Linked DNA regions of Homo sapiens: all the other regions are linked to region 3. The links are contacts of gene promoters, found by promoter capture Hi-C in blood cells and fetal thymus (Javierre and others, 2016). All regions are on one chromosome and are shown on one strand. Each heading gives the region's core, a stretch centred on a gene start or on the middle of the fragment in contact. The rest is flanking DNA. Distances are from core to core; before and after follow the strand shown. Region 1 has its middle 450 kb from the start of LINC00355. Region 2 has its middle 470 kb from the start of LINC00355. Region 3 holds the start of PCDH9 (protocadherin 9). Region 4 has its middle 400 kb from the start of LINC00355. Region 5 has its middle 440 kb from the start of LINC00355. Region 6 has its middle 380 kb from the start of LINC00355.

Region 1 (4,779 bases), core at 109-2,608, 2.7 Mb after region 3:
CATATTTTATTTGTTTATCTGTGTACGATGTGTTTTAATTTGTGAAGTCTTATAGTAAATAACTGTTAATTGGAGGAACAAATGTTCATGTGATCTATAAGGAGTGATGAAGAAACACACACACACACACACACACACAAATAGTGTCAGAGGCCTCGAAGCTACTCTGAAATTTAAAATCAGAGAGAAAATAATATTCTAGAGAAAGGAAAATCTAAGCAAGTTATGAAGATAAAAACCAACTGGCAATTTTAATATTTAGGTCTTGTCAGGAAAACAGAAGCTATGTTAGAGATCTCATCTGGAAACACTTAAAACAGGGAGTTGGTTACAAATTCACTGAAAATCAGGACAGTAAAACAGTGATGGCTGGGAAAGAAAAAGAGAAATGGTTTGCTATCCCAAAACTGGTGAGCTACTGCCAATTGTGATCTTGAGTCCACAAGCTTGAATGTGGACTCATCTGGAAGATAATAGAGGATGAGGGTGATCAGATATGAAGGATGTGGGGGGGTTGTTATTAAACCGATTTAGCGGAGTTCTTGATACAAGATAATTTTACTAGGAGGTACACACATGGATGAGCTTAGGAGAAAATTCACGAGGCTGACTAACATTGGGTTGAGCAAAAAATCTTCGCCACTTGAAGAAAAAAATTAAAATTTCAAGAGAAATATAATACTTCATTTAAAATGCCATTGATGTTTACAACAGTACATTTTACACAATATTGTGGTATTTTAAGGATAATAGAAATTATCTAGCTATAACTAGCTATAATGATTTTCTGCATATGAATAGGCTAAAATAGCAGCATTAATATCTTCTCTACCAAAAAAAAAAATTACTTAGTCACATTTAGCTTGTCTTATTTTCCTGTACTAAAAAAGAAAAAAAAATAGTATGGTGACTATAGCCCACTAAAATGTGATCTAGTTTTTTGTTTCATTTTGTTTATTTTATTTTTATTTTTTTCTCTGGAACATAATCTTATTTTATTTTGCAAAATATCTGGTTTATATTACTCCAACCATAAACAAAATTGTAGATGTTTACAATAAAAATGCAAAATTTAAATGCAGAAATAGGACATGACAGTTAATATTAGAATGGATTTCAAGTTTCGTGTTCCATTTAGAATCATAGAAATTGTAAGTATTTTCACTTAAACTTTGTTTACAGTATTATGATTTTTTTTCTTTGACTCTTACTTTTGGTAAACACAGATTTTAACAACTGTTGAAGACCAGAGTATGCCACCCCCAAATATGAAGTATTGTTGAGTCGAAGACAATTAAGAATAAGCAGATGCAGGAAAGGTCTCTACCCTCCTATTTGCCTAAATGAAGGATGTCAACTTTCAACAATGAGATTTAGAAAATATGATTAAGTAGAGAGTTTATTCAAGTTCAAAACTTGAGGATCTCCGCTTGGGTAACAAAGACTCTAAAAGAATGGGGGTCAGTGCTCCAAAGTGGGAAAGTTATAGTTTCACTTACATAGGCAGAGATAGATAAATTTAACAGAGTTGCGGCATTTTCCACACAAGGCCAATACATACATCATAGTGATTTAATTGATTACAGTTTGCTACATCACAAGTAAGATTGCTTTAACATTACTTAAAAAGGGGTATTAGACCCATGGGGGCTCTTTTCCATGGTGCTTTTAAGTCTTTCTTAATCATCTACAATACAAGAATAAGAAAGGAAGTTAAAGGAGAATTTGCAACAACATGTCACGTGACTCAAGCCACAGCGTCACGTTCCTCTCGAGGCTCAAATAATTTAAAGTTCTCCCTAGAAGGGAGAACAAATCTTAACTACTGAAAACAGCTTTAGATGCTTATCATCTGAAAAAGAGACAAGAAAAAGAGACTAGCAAAATCTACATTACTAGGCTTTAGTAACTAGCCTTTACCTGCCATTTGTTGGCCTTCTCAAAAGTTACAAGTCCTCTCTTTTTGTCTTGTCACTTCTGTAAAAATTTACTGTTAAAGAACAAAGGTTGACAATGCTGTATAAATTGGAATTCAAAACTACCTCTTTGGTAACTCCTCATTCCCTGGGTGTCTCCTCTGTATATATGAAATGTACATATTATACAGGTGAAGAGAATTTTTCCTCTCCCTATGAGTGATTGAGTTTGCTGAAATAAACTGACAATAGGCAGATCAACAGGTGAAAAGGTGTAAAAATGTATTAACATACTTAAGCACAGGAGCCACACAAAATATGAGAGTGGAAATAGGGCCAGTTAATTGAAGCTTAACCACTCTTATAGCTGCCCAGTGGGTTCACCTTGCTCCCTGCCTAGACAGAGCCAATTTATCAGGACAAGGGAACTGCAATAGAGAAAAAGCAATTTATGCAGAGCTGGCTGTGTGAGAGACCAGAATTTTATTATTCCTCAAATCAGTCTCCCTGAAAACTCAGAGATCAAGTGGGTAGGGCACCAGTGAGTCAGGAGAGCTCATTGGTTGGCTCGGGTATGAAGTCATAGGGAATCAAAGCTATCCTCTTATGTTGAATCAGTTCCTGGGTGGGGGCCACAGAACTGGTTGGCAGGTCCAGGTGGGGCCATCTGGTTGTCAGAAATGCAAAAACTGGCAAAGACATCTTGACAGGCCAATCTTAAGTTCATAGTAGTGATGTTATTCTCAACAGTAATTGGAGAAGTTGCACATATTATGACCTCTGGAATAATGGTTAGTAATAGTTAGAATTGCAGTCCCTCTCATCCTTACTTTGCAGCTGGTGGCCTTTCGTTCATTTTACAAGAACGGTTTAGCTTTTGGGAAGGACTATTATTTAAAGTATGAACTAAATTCCTTCCCAAGCCTAGTTTGACCTACACCCAAGAATGGATAAGGACAGTTTAGAAGTTACAAGCAAGATGGAATTGGTTAAGTCTGATATCTTTCACTGTCATAATTTCCTTAGCTATAATTTTGCAAAGGCAGTTTCACTCTTGTCACAGGGGAGAGGCAAGTGGGGAACTGTAAGCAATTTTAGAGGGGAAAGAAACTTTTAGGGAAAATAAATGGACCCAGGAAGCAGACATTATGTTTTAAATGATTCTCTGGAATTTAAATGAGTCTGAGATACAGGCAATATCTTGTGACAAACTGTCCAGGTGTGATTACATTTCTCATTCTTCTACCTGAAATAGTGACATTTCAGGGAGGGGGCAAAAGGCAATTGTGTTTTTGGTGGTAGGTATGGTTTTAAAGTAGTAAGGAAATTTCAGAGAAAAACTCCCCCTGCTGGGGGGTGGGAGGAAAACAGGAAAGGTCAGAAAGTTTTCGAGTTCCAGGCCAATTCCAAAGCCTCCCTATAGAAGTTTTAGGTGTTCAGCATACCAAAGCAACAAACTTTGTGGGTATTATTTTCTGAGACGCAACAAAATGGGTCATGTTTTGTTTTCTTTCTCTCATTAAGTCTGTCTTTTATTACAGGGGTGCTTTCTAAGAACCTATGAGAGTTGAAGGAAAAATTAATTTTCTTACCCCTATGCAACTCTTTGTAAAATAAGTGAATTTATTTTATTGAATAGCAAATTTTATTGAGATGATTGGAAAACAGCAAAATATTTGAGAAATTTGTCATTATAACAATCAATACATAGCATGAAAGGATCTAACGTAAGTGGAAAATAGCATGAAACGAGAAGGCTAATAATGAAATCCAGATTCTCTTTAATACATTCTATTTTACCATTTGACAAAACCATATCTAAAAAGCACTTAAGAGAAAATCATCTGTACATGTGATTAAGGTAAATTTAGGGGTTTAAGTGAAATGTTTGGACAAGTACCAAAACCATTTTATAAAATTTGCAATGAAACAAACTTTTGGGTGCAGCTGCAAGGTTGGATATATACCTGCATAGACTAAAATTTAACCATCTCATCTCATTTTTGAATGAAAATAAATTTCAATTACTCTTACAATATTTCTGAAATGTAAAACAAAACTTAATTTTACTTTTCCCATTTCTATTTTTAATGCCTTATTTAAGTGACAGACTCCAACAAACTATCTAAATAATGTGCTCCTGTTAACTTTCTTTAATATGCCAAATCAGTTTAATTACAGTTTCTATAAATAATCTATGCAAAATACTTCCCTGAAAAGAATGCACTTTTCCTTCTGTGTGTGGCACATTTTAATACTTAAAAGCATTAGAACAGATGTTAGGTGCCTGCTAAACTTGTTTTCAGTTTTCTTTTATTTATATGTTAATGAGAATTTAATTACTTCATGAATACTTAAACAACCTGAGGATGCCTGATATCATTAGCTTGAACATGACAAGCACCTCAAGTGACCACATGGGAAGACAAAAATTGCTTTTAGTTTACTTGAAGACAGAAAGATGAATTCATTTCACCCCCTGCTATGTTTTACCTGACACACAAAACTGAAAAAGCACAGACTCAGTCTTGCTTCAACGTGACTGAAAGGATTTCAGCAAAGCACTCAAGAGCATAAATTCTTCCTATTTGGTTTTGCTTCGATGTCTTTTAATAACTACTCTAGCAATACTCTGCTCTAAAATCTTATTTCACTTGCAAGTGTTCTGTTAAAGCAAGTCACTCTTTTTTATGTATTATTTCTATGGTAATCTTAGCAGAACTGTGAACGTTTAAAGTATTATTTATGTCACTGAAAAATGTCTCCATTTAAGCTCAATTGAAAGGTTTTATTTAGCTAAATGGTAGGAACTCATGTAAAGCAAATAACATTTGTAAATTTTTGCATATTATTTTTACGAGCA
Region 2 (5,091 bases), core at 2,258-4,757, 2.7 Mb after region 3:
GGTACTTCTTCAGTGTTATTCAGTCTAGGACAGTTCTCAGATTTTGAAGATTGTAGGGCAGTTATTTCATCCAACGTTTATTAACTTTGACTTATCGGATATTTCCTCATGATTACATTTTAGATTCATTTTATGCATTTTTGATAAGAATATCACAAAAATAATGCTATGTTCTCATTGCAACCTGATAGGTGTTTGTTTTTCTGTTTTTCCTATTTCGTGTGCCAAACACACATTCTTCCCCTTTCCCGAAACTCTTTCATCTTTTCTTCCTGCTGAAAGAGTTCACTGCCTATTTGTGTGCTTATATATATATTTTTTATATTATGCATAATAATTATTCATGATATTAATATTCTGTATATTATTATGTTTTGAGTTTGTTTTTATAGAGATGGGGATTCACTATGTTGCCCAGGGTGTTCTTGAACTCCTGGGCTCAAACGAATTATCCTGCTTCAGTCTCCCAGTGTGCTGGTATTACAGGCATGAGCCACCACTACACCAGGCCCTGTTTTGAAATCTTTAAAAAACCTTGTAGCTGGGAAGAGACCACCTCTCCATAAGCTAGTCAATTCTTAAAAATTGCAAAAGGCCCAGCCAGAAGCATGACTTTGATGTGCACCCTAACCAAACCAATAATGTCTCTACTATCTGACCTGCTCACCCCAAGAGGCAATATTCCTTAATTATCACAGGACCAGGTGCCAGGCAACTAGAGACTACCCCTATAGCTTAAATCCTGCTAAAATTATTCAAGCTAACCAATCCTAAGCTGTTTTCCCTGCCCTGCCCTGACTTTCTCTAGTAAACTCCTGATAAGTCCATGGCCTAAGCACTTCCCCACTCTTTCGTCTCTTCTGCCTCCTGAGCACCTTGGTGTCTTTCCTACCTGCCCGTCACCACATTTCATGCCACCTGTCTCTAGGTGAGTATCATAAATGTTGTTTACTTAAGCCTTTCCTGTGTCTCCTCTTGTGATCATGCCTGACTAATCATCACATTAAAAAATACAAATACTTTCTTTTATAGAGGCCAGAAAATGACAGAAAGTCAAGGACAGTTGACTAGCTTTAGGCATTTCACCTAGCTTTAGTCATGGTCTCTAAAATACAAATAGGAAGACGACATTAGGTGTCCAGGCAAGTGTTTTTTTTTTCTCTCCCTTATACAAAAATATTTTTCAAGGAGAATGTATCCTCCTTTTTTTGGAGGCAGTGTAGTGAATATGTTGCCAAGAATCAATGGTAGGTATCTAATGATGCTTGAGGGAAAGACAGAACTAAAGCTGAACACCTAAAGTTAACTGGGAGGAATATGAACAAAAACCCTCCAGGATCCTAATGACATCATTGTGCTTCTAAAGTAATCAGGCCCCTTGAATCCTTGTTACGTGAGGTAAAGAATGCCCTTATTGCTTAAGTCATTGACAGCTGGATTGTTTGTTACTTGTTGTTGAAACTGTGCCATCTGGTTCTCATCATCATCTGTCCATGATGGTATTTACTAAAACATTCATCATCCTGTCATGTCCTTAGTCATCAGTGCATATGGGATGCCATTGAATCATCCTTCATTTTAATCCTCAAAGTCCCATTGAAAGAAATCATTCTCACACTTCTGCCTAGAAACCATATGAGACTGTTTAAGATCATCTACTTAGGTTATTCATATAGCCATTTATTTTTTTCTTGAGATTTCTAGCTCTTGCCTCCCACTCTCTAGTTCTACATGAAAAGCAAAATCTATATTGCCTTGACTCTTTTAAATTGTACACTTTCAGGGGTGTTTTCATCCCTCTTCGACCTGGATTGTGGAACAGGAAAATGATAACTTCTTTTGCAGAAATATGTTTTGATCTACCCACTATGCATCCATGCTCATCTCTTACCTTCAACTTAGGCATTCCTTTCCCAGTCTGAAGAGGCATTGCAATCACCTGTTCTTTCATGTCTGTCTCCAAAAGCCTATTGTTTATGCCCTGAATTATGTCCACTTTCCTCAAAGACGAATTATGTGAAATTCAAAAATTAGACTTCTTTAGACTCACTTATCTTTCCCTGGAGCAATGAGCATGGAACACTTCATGATGTTCTGTTAAAATGAGCAAGGGAGCAAGCAGGATCACAAAATAGGAAAATTTATTTTATTAATATTTCAAACTTATGAATTTGGCACACAGATTCATTCTCAACAAATTTGTTTGTTGTCTTCATTTAGTCCTAAGCATGTGGGTTGGGTGAGGGAGGCATTTCTGGTATATTTCGCAGGATACTGAAAATAGATCTATTGAAGATCATTTTCTGGTGCTGAGGGTAAACAAAACTGTTTATATTTTCAACCATGTTGAATATCACCTTAAGGCTCCTTCAGTTTGACTATGTTTCAGTTGAATTATATGCTATATTCTGCTGAAAAGACTAATTTTAGAGATATTTTATAAGGCACTGTTACAAACAGTCTTCTGAGACTGGGCTCCAATATCAAATAATTGATAACTCGAAGAAATGTAATTCCAAAGTTTTTCTAGTTAGAGACAACGTTTGTTGGGGTGAAGTTTAACTTTTGGAGAAAGTGGGAATATGGGAATCACTTAAATGGGCCTTTGGTGATAGAAGTGAGAAAGAAACATTTTTTAATTGAAATAAGGTTTTAAAACAATACCAAATTGTTCTGCATATTAATGTCGAAAATTGTTTCCCTCTGGGCAAAATTGCCTCCTTGCAGCAAGATTATTATTATGATAATATTGAAGTCTATTTTATAGAATTATGCAAGAGATTAAAGAGTTTGTTTATTTTTTTCCTCACTTAGAGTGAAAGGGCAGTTGAGAAACTAGGCTCTAGTTCCAAGGGGAGATGATTAAGGAATTTCACCCAGTTAAAAGGAAACTGACTCCTATAACTGAACAATAGCCAGGAGTCTAAGGAACAATAAGTCAATGACAATTGTGTCTTGGATAGAGTCTAGGATACACATTTTGTTTCATGTTTTTGTTGTTCTTGAAAATTCCCTACATTGCTTCCTGTTTGTGCTTCTCAAGTTCTCAGTGAAGTCTTGCTGGATTTTAAGACTAGTCTTACATATTTCAGGGTTTAGGGTTAGGTGTGTATTCATAAGGAATGTATCTATATTTTGACAACAACAATAACCAGAAGAACAATTATTGAATAATATGATAAGTGGTAACTTGCAAGGAATAGGGCAGCTTTCTTCTGTGGCTAGGTAGCTAGTCCTTTAAGTTATTAATAGAGCATGCAGGAATTCCTTGGGAAGCCTCACCCATAAAAGACAGTTCTTATTGTTACACATATAATGAGGGCTTTTATATTGCTTGTTGTAGTAGATACTCTAGTCACCATTCATTTCCTCTTTCTTCTTTTACAACAAAAAACTGATTTTAGTAAGGAACCCAGTAACTTACATGTATCCATGAGCTGTGTAATACTAAGCACAGTAATCCTAATTCTCCCTAGTACCCTCCCTTACCTACTGCAAAATATTCAACAGTTGATACTTCAAAGGCATCCACCAATTGGAATGGAGGACTGTTTTACCACTGGAGTGGAAGTATGGAGGCTTCTTGCTATGAGATACTGAATATGAGAGGGCTGCCTGTAAGAGGTGAAGAAGGAAGAAAGAAACACAAAAAGCAGCTCAACAGTCAAAGGCCGGGTTATTGTGGAGAATAAACCTGAGAGGGGCTTCTGGCCGAGTGAGGTCAGGAGCACTGTTTTACAGACTAAGAATATTTAAGAGTTTAGGGCAAGAGAGCTTATCACAGGCTTGGAATGTTTCTGTGTCTCTGTCTTGCTTATCTGGGAGGGAGAGTTTTTGTGTCTGTTCCCATACATCTTCCTGCAGCTGCAGGCACTGCCTTTCAAGCGCTACTGAGGTAAGGATCCTAGCAACATTAGGTGGATTTGCATCAGTTGTTTGACAAGTGTAGGAAAGAAGAAACACAACTTTTTTCTCACCTGTTGAAAAGTTCGTGGCTGACAACTGTATTAGTTCGTTCTTGCATTACTATGAGGAACTACCTGAGACTGAGTAATTTATGGAGAAAAGTGGTTTAATCAACTTACAGTTTGGTAGGCTATACAGGAAGCATGGCTGGGGAGGTCTCAGGAAACTTACAATCATGGCGGAAGGCAAAGGGGAAGCAGGCACTTCTTAAATGGTGGAGCAGGAGAGAGAGCGAGGGATAGGTGCTGCACACAACCAGGTCTTGTAAGAACTCTATCACAAGACAGCACTAGGAGTATGGTGCTAAGCCATTAGAAACCACCCCCATGATACAATCACCTCTTACCAGTCCCCACCTCCAACACTTGGGATCACAATTCAACATAAGATTTGGGTGGGGACACAGAGCCAAACCATGTAACACCATTATAAGAAACACAGATAAACAAGAAAAAAGCCTAACAAATTTATTTAGTAAAAATTTTGTATGACATAAGAGATTTCAGGAATGATACCCAAAGAAACAGGGAAAACTGTATTTTTGTGCTTAAGTTTGATGATTGGAAAGTCATGTAGAAGTATGACTGCACAAGAGAGAATATGATATAATGGTAACAACTGAGGTAAACTTGCCAATGCCTGTTTGCTCAGATTCTTCTTTGCATTTGTATGTCTTTATTCCTTTCCTCAGGGTATAGGACAGGACACCTGTCACATAAGAGGCTCTCAGAGGAGAAGGGAAGGAGAAGGTCAGATCTTGCATTTTCAGTTTTCTCAATTTCCTTCAGCTTAAAATATTCACTATGCCAAGCTGCCATGTTTTAAGTCATTGTGTTCTGAGCCCCACAAGAAGGAATCCATAGGTATTTCAATATTTAACAAGTGGAAAGGCCACATGTTGGTACAAGTCAGATAAATATCAGCCCTGCTCAATTCCCCTTACCAGGAAATAGGGAGTTGTTAGAGCTGTAGTTAATAAGGTGTGAGGGGGAGGAGGGGGAGTTTGCTGAGCAACTTTTAGGGAATGAAAAAGGGTTGAAAAGAAACACATAATAAGATACAACTCCCCACACCACACACACACACACACACACACACACACGCACACAGTGAGAATGAATACAC
Region 3 (5,042 bases), core at 1,837-4,336:
AGATGAATAAGGGTTAACTAAAGAGATCTAATTAAAAGTCTAATATATATACTGGAAGATCGATATTAGAAATCTAACATTTTATTAAATTCACTAAGGAAAAACAATGATAAAACACAGCATAAAAACAAATAGGTGTTCCCTTACAAAAACTGAAATTAAGAATATTTTCCTGATTCATAATTACACAGACCTAACTTAAAAAATTAATATTGGAGAGGTAGATTATGAACAGCTCTCATTATGAAAATGATTTATATAGTGTTTTGGGAAGAAACCTTAAGTTGTGATAACACAGGGTTAGGAATATGACCCTTTATATTTAATTTTCCTCTAGGAATATTAATAAGATCTCTAATAATAGTTCTCATTTTAGAGTTTAGAAGTCGGATTATTATAGGGCAAACCAGCCTCAACTATTCTAGATTTAAGAGGTAAAACTGAGAACATTAAGGAATCTCAGTCGTTCAGATAATGCCAAATAAACACCTAAAGGATATAATGCCCTGAGTCCATAGCTCTATTTGTCTCTGAAACTCCATCTCCTTTGAAAAGAATCTAGACATATTTCATTCTGGGGCTTTGACCTGTGGTTTTCTTTAATTGAAGTCTCATAGTCATTAATTGAATCATGTGATGATTTTTTTTTTCTCTTCTCTAACCTTCATCTTGTGTTCAAACTAAGATTTCATTTATGAGCAGGAGGTAATAATGGGTTCTGCCAACACGTGAAGCTATCCTTAGCAAAGAGAAACAACTCCGTTTAATAATGATGTTAAATAATTATTGCTAAGCTATGTGTTGCGACTACAACATGACTTTGAAATGACTACGGTATGATTAGAATAAGAATATGATATAACTGTGGTGCTTATGAAATGAACTGGAAAGTGGCTGTGCTGCTATGTTTATTGTAAATGTATCACAATGATGGTTCATTTATTTAAAAACAGTGCAGTGCATAAAATAGGTGACAATTGGAACAATGTACTAGCTTTAATTGTAGATTTTGTGAATGGCAAAATGATCGTTTACTGTGGTAAGATAAAAGAATCATCCTTTCATTCACTGACATTATTCTGTGAGGCAATATTTTTCTTTTCACTTTGGGATACTTGTAAGTCCTTTCTATTCTTGAATTTTATATATTCTAATCATACAAAATATTACTATAATAAAAGTTGCTTTGCTATTTAAAAAATATCAGTCTATTATCTGCAAGGAAAGTATTTTATATTTTACATATAAGGGATTAATGGATTTTACAGTGGGCTTTTAGACACTGCAGTTGAACTGTGAATATTAACTCAGAAAAGTTTGAATTAAAAAGAGCTTACAATTTCATGTTGGAAAATTGTGATGTCAAATTAGTTGGTTAAATCATGTCATTATTTATTCAATATATGGCTTAGTAAGCTTGATTGGTGTTTTTTTTTTTTTTTACTTTTCATTTAAACGTCTAAAAACAAATGTTACTTAAAAAAGAAAAAAAGCAAACAAAACTATTGTACTCAAAAACAAGGGGTAATCTCCAACACGCCCTCAGTCAAGAGCTTAAGTATGTCAAGAGCCTTTAATGCCTAGGCAGCCCATTATAGAATGGGGAACACACAGGTTTAAAATAAATGCCCTTTATTCTTCCTGTAAGTTAGACCAAGTTATTCAATCATGTACTAAGACCTTCTCTGACAACCTTTATAGGTCATTCAGAAAATAAATTTTTGTTCCAAGTGAACTGTTCCTATGTTAATGCTTCAAACTTTACTCAGGTATCAGGCGTTAAGTACAAGCCATTACACAAACCTTTGTGGTTTACTGACTTTGAAAGATCAATCAAATATATTACTAGATAGTGCTTTGGGGGTCAGTATTTGAGAAATAAAGCTGTATTTTTTGGGGAGTCATTCCATCCAGTTCCCGTATGAAAACGAGAAACTTGTGAGGATTTAGTACAGAGCTGGAGTCGGAGAAATGAAATGCACGGGAAAAGACGAAAATCACAGGAAAGAAAGTTGGAATCAGCAGAAAGTGCCTAGGGGAAAGGAAGTGTTCCACAGCTTGGGAAACAGCTGCCTGGGACTCCTTCCAGCCCCTCGGAAGCAAAGTTCGCAGTGAGGTGGGCTGGAAGCGGGTTTTGCAGCAGCCGCGAGTCCGGGCTCAGGTTTCCAGGCGCGGCTGGAGCAGAAGTGCAGGGACCGCCACGATCCACCGCCGCGGCCGGTCCCGCTCCGCTAGAGGAGACTTCGCACGCGCAGCCGACTGGCCCGGGCTGACCGAGGGGACCCAGACGCTGCCACTTTCTCTTTCCAAGGCAGTTTCCGTGGCTCTGCATGTAGGAAGTGCTCCGATTAATTTTCTTTCCGGTCTCCGCAGAGATTCCAAATTCTGCGGTCCCCACCTTTCGCTGTACTCCCTCTCCGCCCTTCTTTCCAATGTCCCTGCCAGCAAAAGCCTCTATTTGCAGCACCGGGCATGTTGTCCGTTTAACGCGCTCCGGGGATCTGCTGGCTCGTGCTCCCAACCCAGGGGTGGCTATACGTCTCGCGCCTCTGTTCCTGGGTAGACTCCCCCATCTGTGCATTTTGGCCCCTTCACTTAGCAAAGAGATGTGCGAAGTGTGCGCCTGGAGACGAGCCGCCTCGGTGACCCCCATCCGCCCGCAGCGGTGGCCCTGGTTCCCCGGATCCGCGCCCGCGCCCTGCGGGTCTCCCGCGCCGCCCTTGCCCGCCGGACCACCCGGGCTCAGAGGGTCGCTCGCTTTCAGCGCCTGCGAGCGCCGCTTCCGCCCGGGCCTGGGGAGCGCCAGCGCGTCCCTCCCACGCCGGACCCTGCAGAGCATGCTCAGTGCACCTCATGGAACCCGGCTCTCCTGGGGCCAGGATCAGATTTCCGGGTTTTCGCTGCTGCCGAGGGGGCGCGGAGGAGGGGAGGCTGGGAGACAGTCAGCGCCTTGTTCCGCGCTCCCTCCCTCGCGCCGGGCTGCGGCCGCCCGCGCCGCAAGATGCAGGCCAATCAGAGCCCGGGGGCGGGGCCTGGGCAGTCACGCCCTCCCTCTGGGCTTATTGAGAGTTATATCAAGAAATTCAGTTCAGAGAGAGGAGAGGGAGAAGGAGAGAGGGGCAGAGGGGAAGGGAGAGAGGGAGAGCACGCGAGACGGAAAGGAGCGCCTCAGAGTCTCTGAAGCACGCAAGAGATAACCGATTAGGAATTTTTCGGGCAACTGTCACCCGGATAGCTGTCAGAGAATCATCATCACCGCAACTCTGACGTTTCCTACAAGAAGTTAGAGACTTAAGCAGTATTGGCATCGGATGGAAATGGTATGCATGCTGCTGTGGAAAATATCCCTGAGCTGAAGAAGTGCAACTATGTGTTGTGTGTGCTAAATGCCCAGAAGAACCCAGACCCAGTGGGTAAGAGAGACGAAATGTGGAGAGAATGACTAACGACAAATCCGTGAATTTGTTCTCTGGAGTTGCTAATTTGCCAGCCCGAAGCAACACATTTTACAAGGAGGAAACATTTTGCTGCTTCTGATTTCTCCCCAAACTGGTGCTACCAGATGCATGGCTTTCTATGTGTTGGAACAAATCATTCCTAACTGCAGCATACTGGGAAAGGGGAAAGGTTGAGGCAACTAACGTAAGTGTAAAGTTTCGCATGCACAATTGTAAATTCTGTGTTTAGATGTGTCCTCAGTGTAGGCGAAAGATGCTTGTAATTGGGTAGACGGTTGGGGCAGAGCTCACCTACTCGGCTGTATCTGCATCCCTACCTGCATCACTCTGCCGGAACTAATCGCGGGCATCAGCTACTGTGCAGCCTAATGCAGATAAGATTAGAGCCTGAGAACTGACCAGTCCTACTCAAGTAGGTAGCTGCCTGGAGCCTTGCACCCATTTAAACTGCAGTTATCTAAGCAGAAGCCTTTTTACCTGCATGATTGGGTTGCAGTATTTATGTGTGGCAAATGTTACTAATATTCTAACCAGAGATCAGGATTAAGAAATTGCATTTTTTTTCTCTTTTATGTTCAGTAGAAAATATTGTGATGTTACATGGGAATGTTAGCTGCGTTTCACTTATATCTCGGCACTCTCTTCCACCTCTAGGAAAATGAATCCTATATTATTATACATTTTTAAAAGTTTTAATGTGTTTATGAATCCTAATGAGGATAATTTGTCAATATGGAGAAAGGAGAGCAAGCTGTGGGCAAGAAATCTGAAGTCTTGTTGTTGTGCTTTTAGGCAATGAGGATGTGTAGAGGCCGGTGACTATTGCTTCTGATGCCGCTGCAGCGGCATGTCCGGATGCTCGTTTCCCAGTAAGATTGTATTAGAAGGCAGTTGAAGAACTGGGAGGAAAGAAAAAGATAGCCTTTTTAGAAAAGATAGGTGACTCAGTGGGGCAGAGAAGAAAACACATTTGACATGTGACAAAGCAATTAGCAGGAACCGTAGCTAAATACTTAGTGTTTTTCACTTGCACCTGAAAAGACTGAGGGAGGTAGGTTAGAGGCTAGGAGGAGGGTGAGACAGGGGGAGGGGAAGAGGAGAACAAGAATGCATGTTTTGAATTAAACAGTATTCTGAAAAACAACGTGCGTGAATATAGGTAAAAATAGCAGCTGTCCTTAATTCAAAAGTAGAAAATTTTATTTTCTCCCGGCAAATGCAACCAGCAGGAGATATTTAGTGTTTTTCTCCACAGAGTAAACTTGCAAACAGTGGCAGAGCAAACTGCCATGTTTACTAATGTTCAGGGGAAAATGTGTGGTGATATTTTGTGACGGTGTGTTTTTATTTACTGAAGAATAATATTGTCTATACAATTGTGTTGACAGCGGCTGTCTCCAAATAAGTGATGAGATATAATGCATCCTCCAGTCCATGCACGCTTCCTCTTGCAATTTGTGCATCATTCCTCAGTGGAAACCTTTAAACCCTAAAATCCAGGAAAAGAAAATAAATACATTATCATGGACCTGAGGGATTTTTACCTGTTGGCTGCTCTGATTGCCTGTTTAAGGCTGGATTCCG
Region 4 (4,637 bases), core at 1,719-4,218, 2.8 Mb after region 3:
AGAAGAAATTAGTAAAAAGTGCATTAAAAACTGTGAATTGATGCATTACAGGATACATTTTTATGAGTATAGATTATTAGAATGTTTACAAAAGGATAATCATACATTTCTACTTGATAGTGTGTTGTTCAGATGGTCACTTCTATACTTAGTCATCAGATTTGTTCCTTGTTATTTGTGTTAGGTTATACATTAATTGCCAATTAATTACTACCCAGTCAATCATATTGATGATGTAGCAACCTGAAATGAACATTTAGCAAAAGGAAATATCTTGATGGATACTTTGTGTTCTAGTTATTTATATTATTTAGAAATGGGTTGTGTCAATAATTTCTGTATATTACAACACATTTCTATATACTACTTGAATATAAAATTCCCAATAATACCAGTATTATTTCTACTCCTAGTAGAATTCCAGTACAAATCAAATAGCACTAGATGTAGATTCTAAAATCTGTCTCAAAGATAAGGCTGTATGTTGAAAAAACACACAAATCAATGGAGCCTCAATAGTTTAATGTGCAATGTGATGGTTTCTAGTTTGTGTTGATGCAGTTACTTTTTGTTTCATCACAATTCTTACAATGAACAGTGCTTCTATAATTTAGGTAATTCCAACCCCAGCATAATTTGTCTCAATAAAATGGAGCAGAGAATTGAGACAACAGCAAATATAAGGTCTCAGTTTTTTGTGTAATTTCATCACCATTTCCTGTGCTAGGGACCTCATTTTATGAGAGACAGTTTGATGGTGGAGTATCTTTTCTTTCAAAATTACTTTTATTTTATTCTTAGTGTTTCTTATGTTTTAATCACTCTTAAATTTGTTCATGACCATAAAAAGAGAGCACGAAGATGCTAAGTATACAAAATGACATTGGGGGAATAATGTTTATAATTCCACTCTTATTTCCATTTTTATTACATGAAATGCCTGAGTGTCCTTCCAACAAATCCTTTTTTTTCCCTCTTAAGTAGGTTTGAATTTGTGTTTCTCTCATTTGCAACTCGGAGTACAGATAACATAATTATAAGAATAAAGGTCAGAGGGATTATAAAAGAGGGGAGTGATAAGGCTCTGAAGTGTAGCAGCAGAAATAACATTCTTGTAATTTTCTTCAAAAGAAATACTTTGTTGGAACAATTGATAAAAACTAACATACTTAGGAGAACCAAATTCTCATTAATATGCTAGTATCACATTGGGGAGAATTATAGGATAAAACACAGTCCAGAGTAGCAGATTCACAAAACACATTTAAATTCATTAAAATTCTATTGAGTTTGCATTGTTGTTGTCTTGGCTACATGATGCCAAATGATGACTTTGGCTGAATTTTAAATCTTTGAATATATTATTTTGTTCCTGGGTAGATATAAACTTCAGAAGATGCTTTATTAAAGACATTCTTTAAAGTACTAAATTTAAAATGTACTAAAAATTTCCTATTGACATGACAGTATTATATTAACTTAGGGTACTAGTTTAGAGCTCAGCTTGTTTTGGCTTTCTTCCCAATAACAATGTTACCAGCGAACAAGATCATTCAACAGTCAACAACTTTCATTCAACCCAGAAGTCTGCAAAATGTTTCTGTAAAGGACACATAAATATTTTAGGCTTTGCAGGACATAGGGTCCCTGTCACAGTACTAGATTCTGTTGTCATAGTGGGAAAGAAACCATAGACAACACTTAAACAAATGAGCTTGGCAGTGCTCCAATAAAACTTTATTTATAGAGACTGAAATTTCAGTTTTCTATAATTTTTATGTTTCCAAACATTATATTTTTTGATTTAAAAACAAAATTAAACATATACAAAGCGTTCTTAGTTTAGAATGTGACAAAATAATAAAATGGACTGGGTGTGGCTTGCAGATCATAGTTAGCCAGTCAGTAATAGACAGTTCTAAAAAACCAAAAACTGATTAGCTATTTGTTATCCATTTTTTAGATATGGTTTTTAGTCCCAAGATATCTTAAAGAACTTGAATAAAATTGCTTCATAGTTATATAATGTATTTAGGTATATTTGTTTCTTCTTTTACCAAGTATTTAGCATACAACACATAGATGTAAAAAAGGGCATATAAGTTAGTTTGAAAAATATCAATTCTGAATTTGCTAACTCTATTTAAATATTTTTCTGCAGTAGTTGTTTTCCTAACTCTAATAAGGACAGCATTCAAACATCTCTGTTATGGGCTTAATCACCTGACAACATATGCTTTTCTGGCCTAAAGCGAAAGTTCCAAGAATTTTTCTAAGTTAATTTATTTGGTTCTAGTACACTTTTTATTTTTAAGCTTTTGTTTCTTTTGCCTTTTATCCCAGTGTTGTTAACATGTCTAGCTGCAATGCAGGTACTTAGAGCACCATCTAGAGATGAAAAGTTAAAATTAACATAAAAAAAGAAGACCTAGAAGCAGTGTAACCAGAAGATGACTTTGCAATTTACAATTAGCGTGCAAATTATATTTTCAAATGATTGGTTCTAAGAAAGTCACACATTCCTAATTGAAAGCAAATACTTGTTTAATGTTGATGCTCTGCATGACTTTTCCAAAAATACATTGAATAGCTTCAAACTATAATTTGCATTCCATGCAAATAATTAAGATAATGAATAGATTACTGTGTATTTAATCATATTCATATAAACCTCTTATGTTGAGTAGATATATTTTAAGAAATCTCCTAAATGCCACACATATAAACATAAAAATACAGAGCAATGTAAATTGACATGAAGCATCTCTTTCCTTAAGCTCAAATTAATTTATTTATTATCATATATATAAACATAAATATATATATTTTGCTGACTATATGGAAGTATACTCTAGTTTTATGAATATAAGCAGTACTTATTTTTTTAGTTTGCAGAATATAATAAAAGATTTGCAAATACATAAGGAGTTTAGTTGAATTTCCCTATTATATAAACATCTTGATTCACAATGAATCAATAATATATCTATTGTTCTATTAATTTACTTGATAGCAAAGAGATTGGGCTTATTTTCTCAATTAAAAAGCTAAATGAAAAAGGAATACTATTATTTTAAAATAATATCTATATTGAAATAGATTATGTTGGTCCAATCAAAATAATACCTCTCTAATTTTGACATTTCAATTCCCTTGTTTCCTGGAAAATCAGTTTTGTTCCCAGAAATTGCCAAGATATTGGTAGTACTTGTTGGGAACATAAATGACAGTCTAAACTGAGTCCCTTTTGCCACCAGTTTATAGGGTGTCTATTTTGTCTCAGTTGTACATAAAATTTTATGTATCATCAATTCCCCTTTCGGTTTATCCAAAAATTTACAAAGTAAAAAATAAATTTACAATTAATAAATATGGGAAGTAAATCATTTAAATTATATGATAACAGACATGCATCCCAGGTGTATCTGGCTTCAAAATAAGTTATCTTTCCATTTTTCAGTTCTGCAAGGTCCTGGAACAAGGTCAGAGTCCTGTTGAATGTGTAAAATAAACTGATGCTAAGAAATTCATCATACAAATTGGAAGTCAGATTACCAGAGATCTAAGCCCAGGATACTCTTGCCATTGGCAAGAAAAATTTACAGAAGTAGCTAAAGCTTTCTAAAGCATTATATACTCATTTATAACGTGGGGATAGTAATCCAATTTTTAACAGTTATAAGAGAAGTAAATGTAAACTATTTGATAAACACATGGTGGAAATAGATTGATATTAATTTAATCAATGATGTGGGAAAATAAGCAGAGCAGGGGTCTCTTAATTATCTGAGTGCTGTAAACCAGAACTTGGATTGGTAAACATACTTTGATTGCATGGTAGTTGATTAAAAGGAGGGAAAAAGCAATTCAAAGAAGGAAGAGACTGTTGAGATCATCCCACATTACCTATTCTTGTTGTTGATCAGAAATCTGAGATCCAGAGTGGAGGCACGACTTTTCTAAATCTCAGTAAGTGCCAGGGGGGAAGATGCATCTCTCTTATTTAATACCCCACCAAGTTTTCTTCAACTCCATCATGTGCTTTTTTAACTTAAACATTTAATGTAAATAGACCAAAATCTATGCCTTTTTAAGTCTGAGTACATTCTTGACGTTTCTCCTCAGATAGAAATGCACTGGAAGTAAGTGTGCTATCACTTTAAGACTTTTCAAGGTAGCCCAGAATTTTAGACAAGTTCCTGTTCTGCCTTCCCATCATAATCACTAAATACTTAGTATTCAGATAACCACTGCCTGAGGGTCTTCAGTTTCCAGCAGTAGATTTTACCTTCCTGGTGTGCAGATGCTTTTCCAAACATATGGATCACATGAATAGTAGAGTGTGCCCCTTCTCTACCCAAAAGCAAATGCAAATTCTATATAATTTCATTTTTACATTTGGATATTTTTATCTTTAAAGATTTGTATTTTATAGCATCATATATAAAATTAGTTTACGAAGGTTTATTACAATCACAAAATAAATGACACATGAGAAAACGGAATAAAGAATCTAGATATCAGAATTGAAAATGTTAGCTTTGTTTTCTGACAAGTCTGTTGCTGTCTAAATGATTGAACAGACGTGTGATCTTGAGGTAGAGGAAGGGGAGAATCGGAAAGATACTGATTTAAAT
Region 5 (5,059 bases), core at 249-2,748, 2.7 Mb after region 3:
GTACCTCCTCATCCCCAGAAAACCAAAGCCCTGCTCAGCAGTTTCTCACAAAATGAACACATCTGTATCAACACACCATTTAAGAAATAGAATGTCATAGATGGCTCTTGAATGGGCAAAAGCCAGTAAGATTCTTTTTGAAAATTGGCACAAGACAAGGATGCCCTCTTTTACCACTTCTATTCAACATAGTAATTGAAGTCCTAGCCAGAGCAATCAGGCAAGAGAAAAAAAAATAAAGGGCATCCAAACAGGAAAAGAGGAAGTCTAACTATCCCTGTTTGCAGATGACATCATCATATATCTAGAAAACCCCATAGTCTCAGCCCAAAAGCTCTTTCAGCTGATAAACAACTTCAGCAAAGTCTCAAGATACAAAATCAACATCCAAAAATCACTAACATGCCTATACACCAACAACAGTCAAGCTGGGAGCCAAATAAGGAAAGAACTCCCACTCACAATTGCCACAAAAAGAATGAAATACCTAGGAATAAAGCTAACTAGTGAGGTGAAAGATTTCTACAAGGAGAACTACAAAACACTGCTCAAAGAAATTGTAGATGTCACAAAGAAATAAAAAACATTCCATGCTCATGGATAGGAAGAATAAATATTGTAAAAATGACCATACTCCCCAAAGCAATTTATAGATTAAATGCCATTCCTATGAAACTACCAATGGTGTAATACCCAGAACTAGAAAAAAACTATTTTAAAATTCACATGGAACAAAAAAAGAGCCTGAATAGTCAAGGCAATGCTAAGCAAAAAGAACAAAGCTGGAGGCATCATGCTACCTGACTTCAAACTATACTACAGAACTGCAATAACCCAAACAGCATGATAATGGCACGGAAACAGACACAAAGGCCGATGGAACAGAATAGAGAGCCTAGGAATAAGGCCACATACCTACAGCCATCTGATCTTTGACAAAGCTGACAAAAACAAGCAATGGGAAAATGACACCCTATTCAACAAATGGTGCTGGGATAACTAGCTTGTCATATGCAGAAGCCTGAAACTAGACCTCTACCATATGCTATATTACAAAATCAACTCAAGGTAGATTACAGACTTAATTGTAAAACCCCAAAATTTAAAAACTCCAAAAGACAACTTAGGCAATACCATTTAGGATGTAGGAACTGACAAAGACTTCATAAGAAAGATGCTAACAGCAATCACAACAAAAACACCCATTGAAAAATGGGATTTAATTTAAACTAAAGGGCTTTTACACAACAAAAGAAACTATCAATCTACAGAATGGGAGAAAATCTTTGCAAACTATGCATCTAACAAAGGTCTAATATTAGCATCTAAAAGGAACTTAAACAAATTTCCAAGAAAAAAAACCAAACAGCCCTATTAAAAAATAGGCAAAATACATGAACAGACACTTTTCAAAAGAAGACATACATGTGGCCAACAATCATGTGAAAAAGGTCCAATATCACTGATCATTAGAGAAATGCAAATAAAAATCACAATGAGATACCATTTCACATTGATCAGAATGGCTATTATTAAAAAGTCAATAAACAGGTGCTGGTGAAGTTGTGGAGAAACAGGAATGCTTATACACTATTTTATATTTCTCCCATTGGAGTGTAAATTAGCTCAACCATTGTGGGAAACAGTGGGCAATTCTCAAAGACCTAAAGACAGAACTATCCTTCAACCCAATAATCTCATTACTGGGTATACACCCAAAGGAATATAAGTCATTCTATCATAAAGACACGTACATGCCTATGTTCATTGCAACACTGTTCTTATAGCAAACACATGGAACCAATCTAAATGCCCATCAATATCAGATTGGATAAAGAAAATGTGGTACATATTCATTACCATGGAATACCATGCAGCCATAAAAAAGAACAAGATATTGTCCTTTGCAGGAACGTAGATGGAACTCTAGGTCATTATCCTTAGGAAATTAAAGCAGAAATAGAAAACCAAATCCTGTATATTTTCATTTACACATGGGAGCTATCCTTAGCAAATTAAAACAGAAATAGAAAACCAAATCCTATATATTCTCATTTACACATGGGCACTAAATGATGAAAACACATGGACACATAGAGAGGAACAACAGACACTGGGGCCTATCAGATGGTGGAGGGTGGGAGAAGTAAGAGGATCAAGAAAAATAACTAATGGATACCAAGTTTAACAACTGGGTGATGAAATAACCTGTACAATGAACCCCCATAACACAAGTTTACCTGTGCCACAAATCTGCACACCTATCCCAGAACTTAAAATAAAAGATAAATAAAAAATAGAATGAAACCCTTCCAGCTCCCATCGTCCTCTTTAGCCCCTAATCACTATCCTAATCACTATTCCTCCTTACAACCTTTTTTCCTTTTAAGTAGCAACTATCTTGACATTTATGCTTATCACTCTGCTGCTTTTTTTAACTTTGATTTTCCATAATATAATTTTCTTTTATTGTTAATTTTAACCTTATGTAAATGGAATTGTACATTTTATATTCCTAATATGTTGGTTTTCTTGGCCTAGTATTTGTAAGTTTTATTCATATGATGGTATATATTTGTACCAAATATGTACAAAGACATTATAATATCCTTTATAAACATGGATACATAATTTTTAAACACAATATTAGAAAATTGAATTCAATAATAAACAAGAATAATATATCACAACCAACTGGGATTTATCCCAGGGATACGGGGTTGGTATTCAAAGATGAATTTGAAAATCAATCAATTCTCCTTATTATATTTGTAAACTAAAAAAGTAAAATCAACGTGATCATTTAAATTAACACAAAAAAAGCAACTGACAAGACTGAAGTTTCCTGGTTGTTTTATTTTTGAATTCTAGAATTTTTATGGTTTTTTCACCTTGTGATGTACTGTTCTCTGCCAAAATTCTCAATTTTTTAAACCCCTTTGATTATTGACAGCATAATTAATTTAAAATTTGTGATAGTTTAACATCTTGATTCTTCATGAGTCTCTTTTACTAGCCTTCTATTTTTATGCCTTGCTATTTTTCAAACAGACTTTGTTGGCTTACCATATAAGCGGTTATTTTTGACTGTGTCACAGGCATTTTATTTATATAATTTTTTGTGGGAATCTTTTTTTGGACTATGGTCACGTTATTGTTCTCCAGAGAGGAATTATCACTACTTTTGGCACATATTGCTTAGTTTTTACTAAAATTATCATCATTTCCTAGGAAATTTGGCATTTTCTAAATGTGACAGAATATTGGTAATGGAATGACCAATCTCACTCCCAACAGTGACAGGAAAAAGCAAACAAAGGAAAACTCTAAATATAATTTGTCTGTAGTACTTCATGCTCCAACCTCTGAAAAAGTCACTGTGATCATCAAATATTTTGCTCTGATTGGCCAAAATTGAGTCACGCACTTGAGCCTGGATACAAAGAATATTCACCCAATCTTTAAGAATGTGAGAATGAATTATCTTGAGGAAAACTGTGGTACATTAGTAAAAAATAATTGGATGCTAGATGTGAAAACAAAAGATGTTGACTAGCATGTATGATTTTCATTATCTACTAACTTATCTAATGGATTTATGACCTATCTTTTGACTTTTTATCTAAGCAATTTCTTTTCAGTTTTTTAACTTGCACCTCATGCGTTTTCCTTAATGAATAACTTCTCTTTCCCCTCACCAGTAATGCTGCTTCAAATGCACTTGCCTTTGTATCTTCTCTCCCCTCTACATCAGATATCCTTTTCCTTTGTCCATCTGAAAAGGACATACTGATCCTTCCAACTTTTCCAACATGGCCTTCTTTGTGATTTCTTATTTCATTGCATAAGAAAGTTAAGATGCATGTTCTCATATTATGTAACTTACCATATGTAATTTAGTTGCTTTCCTCTCTTCCTACTTGATTCTATCTTTTTGACTGCTAGTTGTCATGTCATTTTTTGGTCAAAATTTATGATATCTATCAAGCACATTGCTGATTCTAAGTAAATGTTCCTTGAATAAATAAATGTTGAAAATCCTACATGGAGGATTGTGGAAATATTTGCCTTAAATAGTGTCAAAATATAAGCTAAAATATATATTTTAAAATATGTTTTCTATAAAACTCATTCTTTAGAGCATAAAAATTGAAGGAAGAAAATAACTAACAATACAGGAACTGCAAATGGATACTTTTGACTTCATTCAAGTGAAGAGGCAGGAAAAGCTTATTTTGAAGAAGAGAAAAGCAAAGAAGTGAATATGGAAACTGATAGGATGTGAGATTCTGTGGTTCCAAAGATAAAGTGAGAAATTTGTAGCATAAAAGCTGATACCCTAGTGGGGCCTGTTTTCTCTTATCGCTTGCGTTGTGTCAGATATCTTGTTGAGTTATGGTAAACTTCCTCTTTGTTCAAATATATCAATTGAGTTTGTATTACTTGAAATAAACAAACAAAATTAACAGACTATATATGGTATGTTATTTCTAACTGGGCTCAACTCTCTTTCTTTCGTATTTCATTCACATTTTTCCTGAAGCCTTACTAAAAGCAATGTAAATTTTAATCTTCCCATAAAAAGTGGGCAAAGTATAAGAACAGACACTTCCAAAAGAAGACATTTATGTGGACAACAAACATATGAAAAAAAGCTCATCATCACTAGACATTAGAGAAATGCACAAAACCACAATGAGATACCATCTCACGCAAGTTAGAATGGTGATTATTAAAATGTGTGGAAACAACAGACGCTGGTGAGGATGTGGAGAAATGGGAAGGCTTTTACACTACTGGTGGGATTGTAAATTAGTTCGACCTTTGGGGACAACCGTGTGGCAATTCCTCAAGGATATAGAACCAGAAATATCATTTGACCCAGAAGGCCCATTACTGAGTATATTCTCAAAGGATTATAAATCATTCTACCATAAAGATAAATGCACACGTATGCTTATTGCAGCACTATTTACAATAGCAAAGACTTGGAACCAACCCAAATGCCCATCAATGATAGACTGGATAAAGAAAATGTGGCACATATACACAATGGAAT
Region 6 (4,697 bases), core at 951-3,450, 2.8 Mb after region 3:
AAATAATATGTCTAAAATAAATTTGAATTATAAAGCTATTTCTTTTATTCTCAGAAATTATTTATACCCTTAAAACCTCTGAAATAAATTTAGAAAGAAGTTACTTCTATCACATTTTTAAGGAGAGATGCAGGGTTGAAAATGTTTTGTGCAATGAAAATAGTATCAGTCTTGCAATTTTAGAAACTTGGTTTTTGTTTTTATTCCATGCCTTAATCACTCCCTGACTTTAGGTAGAACACTTGAAAGCTTTTGATCTAAATTATCCCCTATTGTTAACAGAGAAGGATACGTGCCCTGAAATTTTCCTACAGTGAGGATTAAGCGAGTGTCACTTTGCAGGTGAAAAAGCACTCCACTGAGGTCAGGCATTGCTGTTAGAAACCTTCAATTTCTCCCAGGTCTCTTTTGCCCATCATGCACACATCATTTTACAACTTCAGACTCAGGGATTTGCGTTCTGATTATATTTTTATTGTGAAAGCAATCTCTTATCTCAAATCAACCTTTTTTCCTCTGGTAATTTGCTAGGTAAGAAAAAAATTAAATTTAAATTTAAAAATTGGTGAGTTTTTCTTGTATAATGCAAGAAAGACAGATTCAAATGAATTGTAGCAATTCACCAACATTATTATTCACAATTAGGAAATAAAGACTGTTAAAAAGCACTATAAATAAATGTTTAAAACTGTCTAATTTGACAAACATTTCTATGGATTTAAATTAAAAAAATTATTCCTTGGATTAAAAGCCTCCTGGTGGATTTTAACTTGTAGAAATGTAGATTCGACTTGTAAAAACAATTTTTTCTTTGTTGATCAACCCTAGTTAGCTTTTGTTATTTTAATATACTTTTGCCTGTTTGTGATGAAACAGTTTGTGTATTTTTATAAAAGAATAATCATATTTATAGCATCAACATTTTTCCCTGAAAACATTTGTTTACATTCAAACTAAAAGGGAGTTTCTTTCTGAATTTATGTTTGGGAAGTTCTTGAAGGTATTTGCATCATAGAGCTTTGAATTGAAATTTAAACCTGAGGTCAGAAGCGATGTTGACATATATTAAAAATTAAAATACTCAAAGCACACAGCATGGCACAACTACAGTAATGAAGAACACCATGAAACCAAAATGTTATATTAATGACAGTTAACCTTAGTGATGTTAACTTTTATTCTGTGCATTTTAATGTTTGCTTCCATTTTCCCTATACTTTGACACTGACTAAAATCCACATATTAATGCATTATAATTTATGTCTTGGACCTCCTAGAGAAGGAGAGAATGTTATCTTCAGAATACATTTTTTTTCCAGTGGCAATTAAACATTAACTAATTAATTCAATGTCAATTAAACATTAACTAATTAAAATTGCCCTATTGAGATATCATAACTCTTATGAAAAATCTTTACTTTGAAATGCATAACTTTTGTAAAAGTTAGAAGTGGATGTACTTTTTGAGAGTTCTAAATCATGTTCCCTAATTTACCAGAATTATTGCAGTTTTAATTACATGAAACCCCAAACTATGGGTATCCAGACTAATAAAGTATAAGAAAAATTATGGAAATGAGATAAATATATGACACCTTGTACTCCACATACTGTACTCAGTGACAGAATGGCACAACATATGGAAATCTAAGTATAAAGCAGTGTGAGTATAAATTTGAAATTAAATAAACAAGTAGTTCTGGGCAAGGAACTGAACTTGAGAAATCTGACTACAGATGTCATTATAGAAACAAATGCAGCCCAGAGCTGTAGAAATTCAAAGCAGGCAGCTCCAATCCGATGACTATGTGAATATATGTATGTATGTATGTATGTAATATACATTTGTTTTCAAACAAGCATAGCAAAACCTGTCCATAAGAATTTTTGTTGCAGGTCACATTGGCTGACCTGAATCTCTGCGTTATTAATGAAATTTCAGCAATTTTTGTTAAGTAGAAGTTGTATAGATTGAATGTGTTCTGTTTTTCTCTTCTTCCCCCACCCTCATTACTCCCTAACTGCTCTGCCTATGTTAGCAGCCCATACTGTTTTTAGGCAAATGTGAGAAAAATCTGTAAGTAGTTCACAATCTCACCCCCATACCAACCCTGCTCAAAAAGTAAATTTCTATTGGAATCAGGAGATAATGAAAGGACACACGGAGAACTTGGCTTAGCAGGTGACCATTTATGGAGAGATTAAACTTTTATTGGAAGAAAGCAGTTTTAAAGTTTATGATTGTATTTTTAGCAGAAAGAAGAAAATCAAAATAAATTTAGAAAACCTATATTTAAAAACTCAGTAAATACTAATTCTTCAGAATAAGTGAAGCAAATTTACATGTAAAAGCTGAGTAAGACATGATACTAGAATAATAAGATATGAGGCTTGAGCAGTAAATTGAGTTTCTATTTTAAAGAACTTTGAACGTTATAAAGAAACATTCACATCTAATTTGGTACACAAGTCTGAGCCACTGAATTTACTGAATTTACTTTGTCCAGCAGATTAATCAGGCAACATTACCTAGTTTGGATTGAAGAAGAAAGGGGTACAAGTAGAATAGTCACTGAAGATATTATTAATATAGGAGAAGAATACATTGGAAATTTTTATTTTTGTTAAGACACATTCAACAATAGCAGAACTGACAGTTCTCAACAGAAGACATGGAAGAACAGTGTAAAAAGACCCTGAATATCTTTTCAAAAAAACGGGGTATGATTCAGGTCTCATCTATAGAGAAAAGCTAAGGTCTCTAAAATGGACACCTGAGCAATTCTGCATTAAGTCAAGTAGCTCAGAGCAACAACAACATCAGAACTGAGTATCTGAGCATCATGGGTACTGCGATTAATGTCATTAGTTCTATTAGGTTCTGGGCTTTTGCTTTTGTTTCACTGCTGAAACGGGGCTTGACACCTGCCGCCTGTCTCTTTTGATGCCTATTGTCTCTAAGCCCTTGTCCTGGTTTGGATCTTTGAGTACTCTCTGCTCTGAGGCTGCCTGCTGGAATGCACTGCCTGCTGGAACCCATCTGGACTGCCAGATACATCCTGCCACTGCACTGTCTGAGCACTGCATGCTGTACAACTGGCTGGGCTTTCTTATATTTCTTGTAACTAATTAGTCTCAGTGTACAGAGGCGTTAAATATTCACTTCCTGCATATTTCCAGGCTGCCTTTTCATCCAACCTACCATGTTCTACATTGCTGTTTTCAAAGCTCCTTGGAAATCCCTGAGATGTAAGAAGTAAAGGGAAATAGGATAATAGAAGCAAAAGGGTAAAAATGACTCCAAGACTCCATTTTATTCACTGGATGAAATAAATAGAAAAAGGAAGTCAGAAGGAAGAACTGGTTTCAGAAAGTTTTATGAGAAGGGGATTTATTATTTTAAAAAAATTTAGTAAATGTTAAAATACTGTGACTTAGTTGTGTACAAATTTTCACAATGTTTTCACTAAATTGATTATTATTAAAAGGACATCTTTTCATTCCCACTTCTTTCCAATGCTATGATTTTAATAAAATGGCTATTTTCTGAACCAGATGCCCACAGAGCATTTTGTATTTGAGTATATTCTCACAATTTTTCTACCCACTACTATAATAATTACGTGAAACAAGTGAGACTCTGTGCCAATTTTATCAGCATTATATAATAAATTTTAAAATATTAAATAATTAAAAATAATTGATGCTTTTTTAAAACCCAAATCTTTCTGATATACTATTAATTTATAAATCAATCAACATTTCCTCTGTGTGTATATAAGTGATTATTTCAATGAATTACTTTTAAAAAAATCACAGTTAAAGATAGTTCAATTTACTGGGCTTTACTGAAATTCTATCCTTATAATGCAGCTATCTTAATCGATCCATTTTAAAACCTTTTCATACAACAGTAATTCAACTTTTAATGAATTAGATTTAAATGACTGGAGAAATAAGCAAATTCTATATAGATAGCATATATAACATTTTCTAAGAAGATGTTAAAATATCTTTCTATTATAATCATAGGTCTTCAAAGAATATAGGCTGTAATAAAGTCAATGAGTATTCACAGCTGACCACAATAAAATATCTTAAGTTCTGATACTTACCTCGGACAAATATTTATTAAACTTACCCAAAGCTTTAATAAATATAAAACAATGACTGGATTTATTTTATTGTATATATTTTCACTTCTATTCCAATTTTGTGTACTTACATTCCACGTTTAAGCAGCCTCAAATCTAGATAACTTTATTTTCTCCTAAAATGTAATGCCTGACGAAAGAGCAATTTTGGACACAATTTCCTTAGGCAGCATAAACTACACAAAAAATGATCATAATGGTTATATCATGCTCTCTATGAATTGTTATTTTTGCAAATTTCAGACAAGCTTTTTGAAAATATTCTTTTAAACATGTTACACCCACAATGGTTGAAATTTGACTTTATTTAAGTCCTCTATCTGAGCATAAGGTGCACCCAAACAGAAGAATCCTTCATGTCTCCTCTTAATGCAGATAATCGCTAATCAATGTTAATGGTAATTTCAAGAACAATCCAAAAAAAATACTATGAAATGTAAGTTATGTGTTCACATACACAGAGACATATTCTAGTACACATTTGCAATTGCTTCTTCAGAGTATGGAGCAATAATTAAAATGACAGAAGACTTGTGTCCTGTA

The links. Contacts are between HindIII fragments. The CHiCAGO score rates a contact against its expected background, and 5 or more counts as called.
Region 1: a fragment that was not itself captured here is called in contact with the fragment with the promoter of PCDH9 in region 3 in 15 of 17 cell types (M2 macrophages, M0 macrophages, M1 macrophages and 12 more); the score reaches 47.0 in M2 macrophages.
Region 2: a fragment that was not itself captured here is called in contact with the fragment with the promoter of PCDH9 in region 3 in 2 of 17 cell types (M2 macrophages and M0 macrophages); the score reaches 9.9 in M2 macrophages.
Region 4: a fragment that was not itself captured here is called in contact with the fragment with the promoter of PCDH9 in region 3 in 5 of 17 cell types (M2 macrophages, megakaryocytes, M0 macrophages and 2 more); the score reaches 15.9 in M2 macrophages.
Region 5: a contact is called between a fragment that was not itself captured here and the fragment with the promoter of PCDH9 in region 3, in 1 of 17 cell types (M2 macrophages). The highest score is 14.6, in M2 macrophages.
Region 6: a contact is called between a fragment that was not itself captured here and the fragment with the promoter of PCDH9 in region 3, in 1 of 17 cell types (M2 macrophages). The highest score is 5.3, in M2 macrophages.

Annotation. Positions count from the first base shown.
Region 1 is chr13:64,528,566-64,533,344 of GRCh38, reverse strand. No RefSeq gene overlaps it. Among named protein-coding and RNA genes, the nearest start is that of LINC00355, 450 kb to the right of the region's middle. The HindIII fragment of the contact is 1,820 bases long and covers 449-2,268 here.
Region 2 is chr13:64,548,342-64,553,432 of GRCh38, reverse strand. No RefSeq gene overlaps it. Among named protein-coding and RNA genes, the nearest start is that of LINC00355, 470 kb to the right of the region's middle. The HindIII fragment of the contact is 8,822 bases long and covers 1-5,091 here.
Region 3 is chr13:67,228,380-67,233,421 of GRCh38, reverse strand. It overlaps PCDH9 (protocadherin 9), which reads left to right and starts at 3,086. Exons shown (of 5, transcript NM_203487.3): 1 at 3,086-3,642; 2 at 4,847-5,042. The coding sequence starts at 4,982. RefSeq lists a silencer at 2,676-2,815. The HindIII fragment of the contact is 4,939 bases long and covers 1,419-5,042 here.
Region 4 is chr13:64,469,861-64,474,497 of GRCh38, reverse strand. No RefSeq gene overlaps it. Among named protein-coding and RNA genes, the nearest start is that of LINC00355, 400 kb to the right of the region's middle. The HindIII fragment of the contact is 1,302 bases long and covers 2,318-3,619 here.
Region 5 is chr13:64,509,094-64,514,152 of GRCh38, reverse strand. No RefSeq gene overlaps it. Among named protein-coding and RNA genes, the nearest start is that of LINC00355, 440 kb to the right of the region's middle. The HindIII fragment of the contact is 5,466 bases long and covers 1-4,231 here.
Region 6 is chr13:64,452,374-64,457,070 of GRCh38, reverse strand. No RefSeq gene overlaps it. Among named protein-coding and RNA genes, the nearest start is that of LINC00355, 380 kb to the right of the region's middle. The HindIII fragment of the contact is 3,898 bases long and covers 252-4,149 here.